Regions from separate parts of the Homo sapiens genome. Here region 1 is linked to region 2. Evidence: promoter capture Hi-C in 16 types of primary human blood cells and fetal thymus (Javierre and others, 2016). All regions are on one chromosome and are shown on one strand. Each heading gives the region's core, a stretch centred on a gene start or on the middle of the fragment in contact. The rest is flanking DNA. Distances are from core to core; before and after follow the strand shown. Region 1 holds the start of ING5 (inhibitor of growth family member 5). Region 2 holds the start of RNPEPL1 (arginyl aminopeptidase like 1).

Region 1 (4,804 bases), core at 733-3,232, 1.1 Mb after region 2:
ACTGCAACCTCCACGTACCAGGTTCAAGTGATTCTCCTTCCTCAGCCTCCTGGGTAGCTGGGATTACAGGCACCAGCCATTATGCCCGGCTAAGTTTTTTTTTTTTTTTTTTTTTTTTGGGACGGAGTGTTGCTCTGTCGCCCAGGCTGGAGTGCAATGGCACGATCTCGGCTCACCGCAAGCTCAGCCTCCCGGGTTCACGCCATTCTCCTGCCTCGGCCGCCCGAGTAGCTGGGATTACAGGCGCCCGCCACCATGCCCAGCTAATTTTTTTGTAGTTTTAGTAGAGATGGGGTTTCACCGTGTTAGGCAGGATGGTCTCAATCTCCTGACCTCGTGATCCTCCCGCCTTGGCCTCCCAAAGTGCTGGAATTACAGGAGTGAGCCACCGCGCCTGCCCTATTTTATTTTATTTTTGAGATGGAATCTTGCTCTGCTGGCCAGGCTGGAGTGCAGTGGTGCAATCTCGGCTCACTGCAACCTCCGCCTCCCAAGCTCAAGCGATTCTCCTGTTTCAGCCTCCCGAGTATCTGGGATTACAGGTACTTGCCACCATGCCCGGCTAGTTTTTGTATTATTATTATTTTGAGACGGAGTCTTGCTCTTGTCACCCAAGCTGCAGTGCAGTTACATGATCTCTTCTCACTGCAACCTCCCTCTCCCAAGTTCAAGTAATTTTCCTGCCTCAGTCTCCGAGTAGCTGGGAGTACAGGCGCCCGCCACCACGCCCGGGTAATTTTTGTATTTTTAGTAGAGACATGATTTCGCCACGTTGGCCAGGCTGGTCTCAAATTCCTGCCCTCAAGTGATCCGCCCGCCTCGGCCTCCCAAAGTGTTGGGATTACAGGCGTGAGCCACCGTGCCGAGTCTGAAACATATTTTAATTATGTTTCTCCAGTATTTTTTTTTTCTTAAAATTTTCTTTTTTTTTTTTGAAGACAGAGTCTTGCTCTGTCGCCCAGGCTGGAGTGCAGACGCGATCTCAGCTCACTACAACCTCCGCCTCCCGGGCTCAGCCTCCGGAGTAGCTGGGACTACAGGCGTGCGCCACCACGCTTGGCTAATTTTTTTTTTTTTTTGTATTTTTAGTAGAGTCGGGGTTTCAACACGTTGGCCAGGCTGGTCTCAAATTCCTGCCCTCAAGTGATCCGCCCGCCTCGGCCTCCCAAAGTGATGGGATTACAGGCGTGCGCCAGCGCGCCGGCCTTCTCCAGTATTTTTGCATGCATCTTACGGCACACCTTTGCACGCCATCTTATTAACTATATCATACTGCCGCACGTGCCTTTTCGGCCAAGGCATCCAGATGGTGCGGGTCCTGCCTGCCTCGAGAGGTGGCAGCAAAGGAGCCAGTGCCCTCACTGGTGCTGGGCGGGGCGGCCGCTTTCCTCGGAGGGAAGGGGCGGCGTTGGCGGGGGAAGGGCGCCAGGGCCCAGGCCCTGAGGGAGGGGCAGCTCGCCCGGGCCACGCGGTGCCGGCCCTCGGCTCAGGCCGGGCTGAGGCCCCGGGGGCTCGGGGTCCGGGGGAAAGGCGCTGAGCCAGACAGGTCCCAAGGAGCCTTCGGGAAGGGAGGGCCTCGTGGCGGCCTGTCCGGGACCCGGCCGGGAGCAGGGGTCGCGTGGGCGCCGTCAGGACGGGCGTGAGGTCCCCGGGACCACGTGTTTGCGTTTGGTGGCCCAGGGGTCGCTGACAGGTGCGGAGGGGAGACGCCCACCTGGGTGCCCTGGGCCGCACGCCGGGCGGTGGGGCCGGGAACCCCTGCTCCTCCTCGGCCTCCGATCCGCTGCGGCCCTGGGTCCTGCTCGCTGCCCGACGCCGCTGCCACAACCTCCGCCCGGGCCCCGCAGCCCGCCGCCCGCCGGAAGCTGAAAGGCGTGTCCGACCCCGCCCCCGGGCGCGACCAATCAGCGCGCGCGACTCATGAATAGTGAGCGCGCTGGCACCGCCCCGCCCCCGCCTCCCGCGGCACCGCCCGCCCGCGCAGACCCCGAGCGCGGCCGCGGACGAAGATGGCGACCGCCATGTACTTGGAGCACTATCTGGACAGTAAGCGCGCCCCACGGGCCCCGCGCCCGCCGCCCACGCGGAGTCCTCCGTGCCGCAGCCCCCCGCGCGCCGGGCACCGCATGCAGACCCCGTGGGCTCGGGAGGGCGGCGGGCGCGGCCGGGCGCGACGGGGGGCGCGCGGACGGGGCGGGGCAGGGCCGCAAGGGAGGGGAGGGCGCGGGGGGCGGGCGCGGGGGGTCCCGCCGGCTGGGTCGCGCCAATTCCAGGTGCGTCACGGCGGGGCGGGGCCTGGCGATGCTGGGCGGGGCTTGCGGCCTCGACCCCGCCCACATATTAGGTCCCGCCCCTACCCAGGCCCCGCCTCATCTCCGCCCCCAGCTCCGGCCCCGGCCCCGCCAGGTCCCGCCCGTCCCTGTCCCGTCTGCAGGAGGAGCTGGCGCCCGCTGCGGGGCTCCGGGCCTTGGGGGCTCCGGGGTCTGGGCCTCCGCCTGGCTGTGCGCCCGTGTGCGCCGGCCTCTTGTGTGACCGCGGCTGGGGAGGGCGTGCGGGCCGCGGGGCGTCTCTCCCCGGCACTGGGGACTGCGGCGCGGAGGCGGGGAGGGCGGTGCCGAGTCGGCCCTGGTGGGCGGGCTGTGCTGTTTCCAGGTGGCAGCAGGTCGGCGCCCCCAGCGGCTGAGCGGACGGTGCTTTCCCTCACTTTACACACCAGGGAAGGTCCAGCGCTGCCGAGCAGCCTGCTCAGGGTCTCCCGCTCGTAGAGGGGCAGACCCCACGCGGGACCCCTGACGTCGGCCCGGGATGGGCACAGCTTTGGGGTCGCGGTGTTTGGGGTTGTGCCGGGTGGCTCTGGAGGGCCCTTGTGGGGGCGCTGCACTGGGGATCCTCATGGTCTTCGGCCTGGCACCCGCCCAGGGGCTGAGACAGTGGCGAGTGAGCCGTGGCCTGGAGCTGGAGACCGCTGCCCTAGAGGGACGCCCGATTCTGCCCATGTGCTCCGCTGTCTCTTGGGGGTCTGAGTAGTGGGGGGTTCCCTGGGTAGAAGAGTCAAGCTGGGGAGCACGCTGGAGGGGAGGCCTTCTCTATCCTGGTGCCCAGCCAGTGGGCTGGCCTCCCAAGGAGGGTTGACTTTGTGTGTGTCTGGGAGGCTGTGCCAGCCGGGAGGCTGTGCCTCTGTCCTCTAGGGGAGCTGGGAAAACACTGGGGCTGGAAGCATCAGATGCATAAGATAGAGTTAGGTTTAAAATGATTGCCTGGTAACTGTGAACAGCAGATGGGAGGGTGGCCAAGACTGGAGGAGGCAGCCCCCCTTAGGAGCCTGTGTCAGCTGTGCAGGGGGCGGAGGTTGGCCTGGTCTAGGGGGTAACAAAGCAGACGCGAAAGCAGCACGGGGGTCCTCCTGGCAGACTGTGGGGAATGGTTGCGCTAGCCACAGGGACTATTTAAGTAAAATTAAAAATTGAATGGCGTTAGTCCCATTTCCAGTGCTCAGTAGCTCCCTATGGCCACCACTGTCTTGGGCAGCTCAGAGAGAACATTTCTTTTCTTTTTCTTTTTTTGATTTTTTTTGAAATGGAGTCTCACCCTGTTGCCCAGGTTGGAGGGTATGATCTCAGCACACTGCAACCTCCACCTCCCAGGTTCAAGCAATTCTCATGCCCTAGCCTCTCGAGTAGCTGGGACTGTAGCTGTGCACCACCACGCCTGGATAATTTTTGTATTTTTAGTAGAGACAGGGTTTCACCATGTTGGCCAGGCTGGTCTTGAACTCCTGACCTCAACTGATTTGCCTGTCTTGATCTCCCAAAGTGCTGGGATTACAGGTATGAGCCACCACGCCCATCCGAGAGAGGAAACATTTCTATCCTTGCATAAAGTCGCGTGGGCAGCGTGGCTACACTGCTCAATGCACTGGATTTCTGGGTAAAGTAGGGGAAGATCAAGGAGGACCCAGGGGATTTTGGCTTGAGCCTTGGAAGATGCTGCTCACTGAGGGGGGGCAGCCTAGAGGGTGGGGTCAGTTGGCCTCCCCTGCCTGTGCTGTTGGTTTCCAAGTTTCCCTCTCCCTTCTTTGACTTCTGACAGCTTCCGAAGTGTGCACACAGCCTCTTGTCAGCACTGTTTGGTACCTGCATCTAAAAATGAGATCACAGTCCTTCCGCTCCGCAAACCCTGACAGAGACAGAATACAGAGTGGGCTTGTAGACTTGAAGTATAAAACTTTTGGCCAGTCCTGGTGGCTCACACCTGTAATCCCAGCACTTTGAGAGGCCGAGGTGGGCGGATCACCTGAGGTCAGGAGTTCGAGACAAGCCTGGCCAACCTTGTGAAACCCCGTCTCAACTAAAAATACAAAAACTAGCCGGGCATGGTGGCATGTGCCTGTAATCCCAGCTACTCAGGAGGCGGAGGCGTGAGAATCACTTGAACCTGGGAGGTGTAGGTTGCAGTGAGCCAAGATCGCACCACTGCACTCCAGCCTGGGCAACAAGAGTGAAACTCCATCTCAAAAAAAAAAGACAGAAAACCTTTGGAGGTGAATTTTTGTCTTGCTGCTGAGAGGTACATGGCTTCTGTGTTTTTGCGTTTCAGGTATCGAGAACCTTCCCTGCGAACTTCAGAGGAACTTCCAGCTGATGCGAGAGCTGGACCAGAGGACGGAAGGTGGGTTCAGACCTCTCCATACAACCAGAACTGAGTTCTGACAGGTGGGAGCCAGCAGCTCCTGAAGGCTGGGGGCAGAGGGTTTTGAGGGGACCCAGGTTAGTGGGGCATTGGCCTAGCCCTGGGCCGTGGGTAT
Region 2 (4,824 bases), core at 1,747-4,246:
GAGCCAGCCCTGTGTTGTCTCATGCTTCCGTGGCTGGGCCGTGTCTGAGCCACCCTCCCAGTGAGACCCGATTGTGTTCCTAAGCAAAAGCATCCCACCTGGGGACCGAACATCTCTGATGCGGCAGAGCCCAAAGCTGGGGGGATGGGAAGCACGGGTTTTGTCAGCCAAGCGTGGGGGTGGTAGTGAGAAGGGCCTTCTCCCTCCCCACGCCTTGTGTACCTGGGCCTCAAGCATAGGCCACACCTTGTTGGTCGCTGCCCCTCTATGCCGTGTCACCAGCCGGCACCACCCATCGCTGTGGACCGCGGCCCCCATCACAAGCTGGTGCCCAGGGCAGTCCCCATCTCTGTGGAGGGCTTGCCTGCCGCTGGCCTCTCTAGATAAGCTCCTCATGACTCATGCAACCTTTTCATCAACCCGGAAGGAAGCAGCCGCCGGTCGCCACTAGTGGGTGAGGAACAGTGGCTTGGAGAGGAGGGAGGACCTGGGTCTGCGGTTTCCCCCGCGGCTCAGCCCTGCTCACAACACCCTGATGAAAACCTCGGCTGCCCTTGCCTCAGGGCAGGGCACACCCTTTACCTGCTGACCTGGCCCTGGTGACAAGGGGACAAGGGCAGCAGGGCCCCGGCCAGGTTGAAGGACACCTGTGGGTCACATCAGACCTTTTTAGCCCACCAGCTCCATCTGAGAACTGGTAGCTCCCTGGTCCTCTGTCGGGGTTGGGCGCGGCCCTGTCTGAACACTGCTTCTTCCTGGAAGCTTTGCTGCCCTCCCCAGCCTGCTAAAACGCTCCATGCCCACACCCACCTCCTAGTGGGTGAAGCCAGGAACCCCTCCCTCGGGTGCATCAGGGGAAGGCTGGGGTGCAGATGCCGCGCAGCCACTTCACTGCGCTGATCACCAAAAAGCTGGAGTATGAAAACTCCTGTGGGAGAAAGCCAGGGCTGACAGTCGCGACGTCCAGGCTCCTCTGCCAGGGTTAGAGAAGTCAGAGGTGTCTGCCCAGGCCTGCATGCGGCGTAGCCTCCCGCCGCCAGGGGGCGTCAGGCCGGCGGGGGCGGGGCCTCCTCGGGCGGGGCGGGGCGGGGCGGGGCCGGCGCGAGAGGCTCCCGCGGCTCAGTTGCAGACCCCGCCCCCTCGGCTCAGCCGCGCCTCCCGCTCCATGGGGTGCAGTAGGGCAGCTCCTCACATACGTGCGCGGTGGGAGGCGCTCCCTTGGGCCCCCGGGGAGGAGGTGCCACAGCAACTCTGGACTCCTGTGTGCAGAACTGGCCGCGGAGAGGTGCCCAGGGCGAGACCCCAACCTCTGCTCCCTGAGCCCAATGCGGGGCTCTGGGTGGCAAGACCCCAAGCTCCCTGTGGTGACTTGCCCCCCGGACGGCCAGGCCCAGCTAGTGTGGCACCGCGTGTGCAGAACTGAGGTTCTTCCAGCCAGGAACATGGCCCGGTGGGCTCTGGAGAGCCCCGTAGAACTGGGGGTGCCATCGAAAACAGTCTGCCCTTGGCACTGCAGGGCCCCACCGGGCAGGGCGCTGGGGGCAGTGAGGAGGGTCCCATCTCAGCTGTCTTCCCTGTCAGCCTTGGATGCGAGGCTGATCCACACCTCTGAGTGACTGTGTAAGCCTAGGGGTTCCTGGTGAGTTTGGGATGGGTGCCCCAAGATCGTGGCCGTGTCCCTAAAGAGGGCACGTGGGGACCTGAGGTCCTACGGGAAAACTGAAATGATGCCTCAGTGCTCTGTCCCGCAAACGTGAACGCACACTCTCCCTCTCAGCCTTCCTTCCCGCCCCACGGAAGGAGGGTAGACACAGAGGGTTACACAACGAGGAGACTGAGTCCAGACACAGGAAACACTACTCAGGGCTGACGCTGAGTCGAGTGCGGTACCCGAGTCCAGCCCTGCACGGCCACACCTCAATGGAGCAGAAGAGAGAGGTGTCCTGGGTTCCTGGATAGTTCCCCAGCCCCAGAAGCCCCTTGTCCCTAGGAATTTGAATTCTTACTTGATGACAACAGCGACATCATGGTGGCCCCTGTTATTCCACAGCCTCAAAATTTAACCGCTGTGAGCTCACTAGCAGCTTCTGCCAGGCGAGCACCCCTTCCCTCGGGGCTCAGGCTCCTGGACAGGCTCAGCCTTGGGCAGCCTTCGCCAGGTCCACAGAGAATGGCGTTGGGAAGGGTGGACCTGGCGGATGGGGTGGGGACAGGCGGGCCAGACCCTCCTTCGTACCCCAGCACAGGGCTCCCAAATGAGAGGTCCCCAGCACTGCCCAGAGGAACTTCTGCGATTGTGGAAATGATTCCTGCCTGCTTTGTCCATTAGCCACTCCTCCCAGGAAGACACACACACTCACTCACTCCACCTGCCACGAAGGAACTGAACTTCTAACTGTATTTAATTCGCATCTAAATGGCCACACGTGGTTGGTGGCTGCTGTAGTTGACAGCGCTGCGTGAAGGCTCCGGCGCTTCTCGCACCGCAGGGCCCACAGCACAGACCACACCTGTAGACTTGGAGGAGTGGCAGGGGTGCCAGGAGAATCCTGCCCTGCCCGTAGCCCCGGATGAAAGGATGACATTGAGTTCGCGACGCTGCGCTCCTCGGGAACACGAACCACACCTGGAAGCAGCCTGCCCCTGTGGCCCCAAGGTTCCCGGGTCCCTTCAGCGGCTGCCCCAGGGGCCTGGCCGGCAGTGTCTGGGAGGGAGCAGCGATCCCGCCTCCTGGGATCTCCCGGGCGCCGCCCGGGGAGGAAGCGAGGGGCTGGGGGTGCTGCTCACCCGCTCCGCGCGCCTCGGCTCCCAACACAGCGCCCCGGCCCCGCGCCGCGCTCGATTCCCCGGCTCCCCGCGCCCCTGGCTCCTGGCCCTCCCCGCCCGGCGCCCCGGCCCCGCGCCCCGGCCCCGCGCACAGCGCCCCCGGCGGCGGCCGAGCGGAGCCCGAGCGGGGCGGCGCACGGCGCGGGGCCGGGCCGGGCGGCTCCCGGCGCGACTTCCTGTTGTGCCCGCGCCCCGCCGCCGCCGCCGCCCGGCGCCCCTCGCCCGCGGCCCGGCGCGGCCGCCGCCCATGGATTTCACCTAGTGCCGGCGGCCATGGCCGCGCAGTGCTGCTGCCGCCAGGCGCCCGGCGCCGAGGCCGCGCCCGTCCGCCCGCCGCCCGAGCCGCCGCCCGCCCTGGACGTGGCCTCGGCCTCCAGCGCGCAGCTCTTCCGCCTCCGCCACCTGCAGCTGGGCCTGGAGCTGCGGCCCGAGGCGCGCGAGTTGGCCGGCTGCCTGGTGCTCGAGCTGTGCGCGCTGCGGCCCGCGCCCCGCGCGCTCGTGCTCGACGCGCACCCGGCTCTGCGCCTGCACTCAGCCGCCTTCCGTCGCGCCCCCGCCGCCGCCGCCGAGACGCCCTGCGCCTTCGCCTTCTCCGCCCCCGGGCCGGGGCCCGCGCCGCCGCCCCCGCTGCCCGCCTTCCCCGAGGCGCCCGGCTCCGAGCCCGCCTGCTGTCCGCTGGCCTTCAGGGTGGACCCGTTCACCGACTACGGCTCCTCGCTCACCGTCACGCTGCCGCCCGAGCTGCAGGCGCACCAGCCCTTCCAGGTCATCCTGCGGTACACCTCGACCGACGCCCCCGCCGTGAGTCCGGGGCGGGCGCCGGGGCTGCGGGCCGGTCCGCAGGGCGCTGCTAGCGGCCTCTCGCCGCACGGCCAGGCTGAGGGACGCGAATCTGCGCCCTACAGGTGCCCCCCTCCCCCCACCCCGGTGATTCCCAGCTGTTGCCTGTGAGCCCTTAGGACCCTCGGATAGAAGCCGGAGTCCTGCGGGGACACGGGACAGCATGTCACTCCGGGAAGCCTCCCGTTCAGGTGTCTGGTCCCTGCCTGGGGACATGAGCAGCTTCTGTCACCCACCGAGGTGTACATCTGCAGGATCCTGGCACCAAGGGTTGGGCTGGAGTGTCAGCTGCGGAAGGGCCTCCATGTGACCAGTGCGTGCAGATGAGTCCAAGCCAGAGGCAGAGGAAAGGGCCATGGAGATTGTGATGCTCGGTTTGGGGCTTCCTTGGCCAGCACTGGTGGAGTGTTGAGACCAGTGGGCCCCGCGACCCCAACATAGACACACATAGGCTCTGCAGGGCTTGCACACTGGGTACCCACCACTCCAGAGACTCTGCAAGAAAGGCCAGGTGGCTGAGGCTGGCGCTGTGGCTGCAGCACCCCCTCCACCTCCACCAGTGGGGATGTGTACAGGATGGAGCAGGGCCTTTCCTGCCTACAGCATGGGGGTTCATACTGCATCCCTAGGTGGTATGGACGGCACACATGTGACACCCGACATATGCAAGACACACACAGCTGTGGAGGCGCTGGGAAGTCCAGCTGTCACTGGTCACGGCACATAAATGGACAGGGTGGTGGAGAGGTGGTCGAGAGGCTTCAGGCCACAAAGAGCCAAGGTGACATCTGGGCAGGAAGAACCCAGACCAGTGCACCCCTATGGGCTTCCTGTACATTTCCCAGGAGCCCTAAGCAGGACCTGCCACCTCACCTTTTTCCCAGAACCCCTGTGGGTGTGCAGGCCGCTGGCTAGCCGGCCCCGCCCCTGCTGTGGTATTCCAGGGCTCTGACCGGTGGCAAGTATGCCTCCCAGTATGACAGGTGAGAACTGAGGGATGGGCTTCTCCTTGGCCTTGATCCGTGTTTGGAGCCCACGTGTCTGGTCCGCCCAACACTGGCCTGCAGAGTGGCCGGACCAGGGCCCTCAGCAGGCTGCTGTGAACGGGGCCCAGTGAGCAAGGGTGGCCATTGTCTCTTGGCTTCCTATGGCCTACTG

The links. Contacts are between HindIII fragments. The CHiCAGO score rates a contact against its expected background, and 5 or more counts as called.
Region 1: a contact is called between the fragment with the promoter of ING5 here and the fragment with the promoter of RNPEPL1 in region 2, in 2 of 17 cell types (naive CD8 T cells and neutrophils). The highest score is 8.7, in naive CD8 T cells.

Annotation. Positions count from the first base shown.
Region 1 is chr2:241,700,057-241,704,860 of GRCh38, forward strand. ING5 (inhibitor of growth family member 5) reads left to right here and starts at 1,983. Exons shown (of 8, transcript NM_032329.6): 1 at 1,983-2,046; 2 at 4,597-4,668. The coding sequence starts at 2,010. RefSeq lists silencers at 1,277-2,096, 1,839-2,002, 2,187-2,746 and enhancers at 1,401-2,233, 2,472-3,101. The HindIII fragment of the contact is 17,390 bases long and covers 1-4,804 here.
Region 2 is chr2:240,565,488-240,570,311 of GRCh38, forward strand. RNPEPL1 (arginyl aminopeptidase like 1) reads left to right here and starts at 2,997. Exons shown (of 11, transcript NM_018226.6): 1 at 2,997-3,627. The coding sequence starts at 3,100. RefSeq lists silencers at 964-1,203, 2,714-2,973, 3,004-3,063, 3,204-3,393, 3,634-3,683 and enhancers at 3,444-4,082, 3,954-4,133, 4,083-4,721. The HindIII fragment of the contact is 8,327 bases long and covers 761-4,824 here.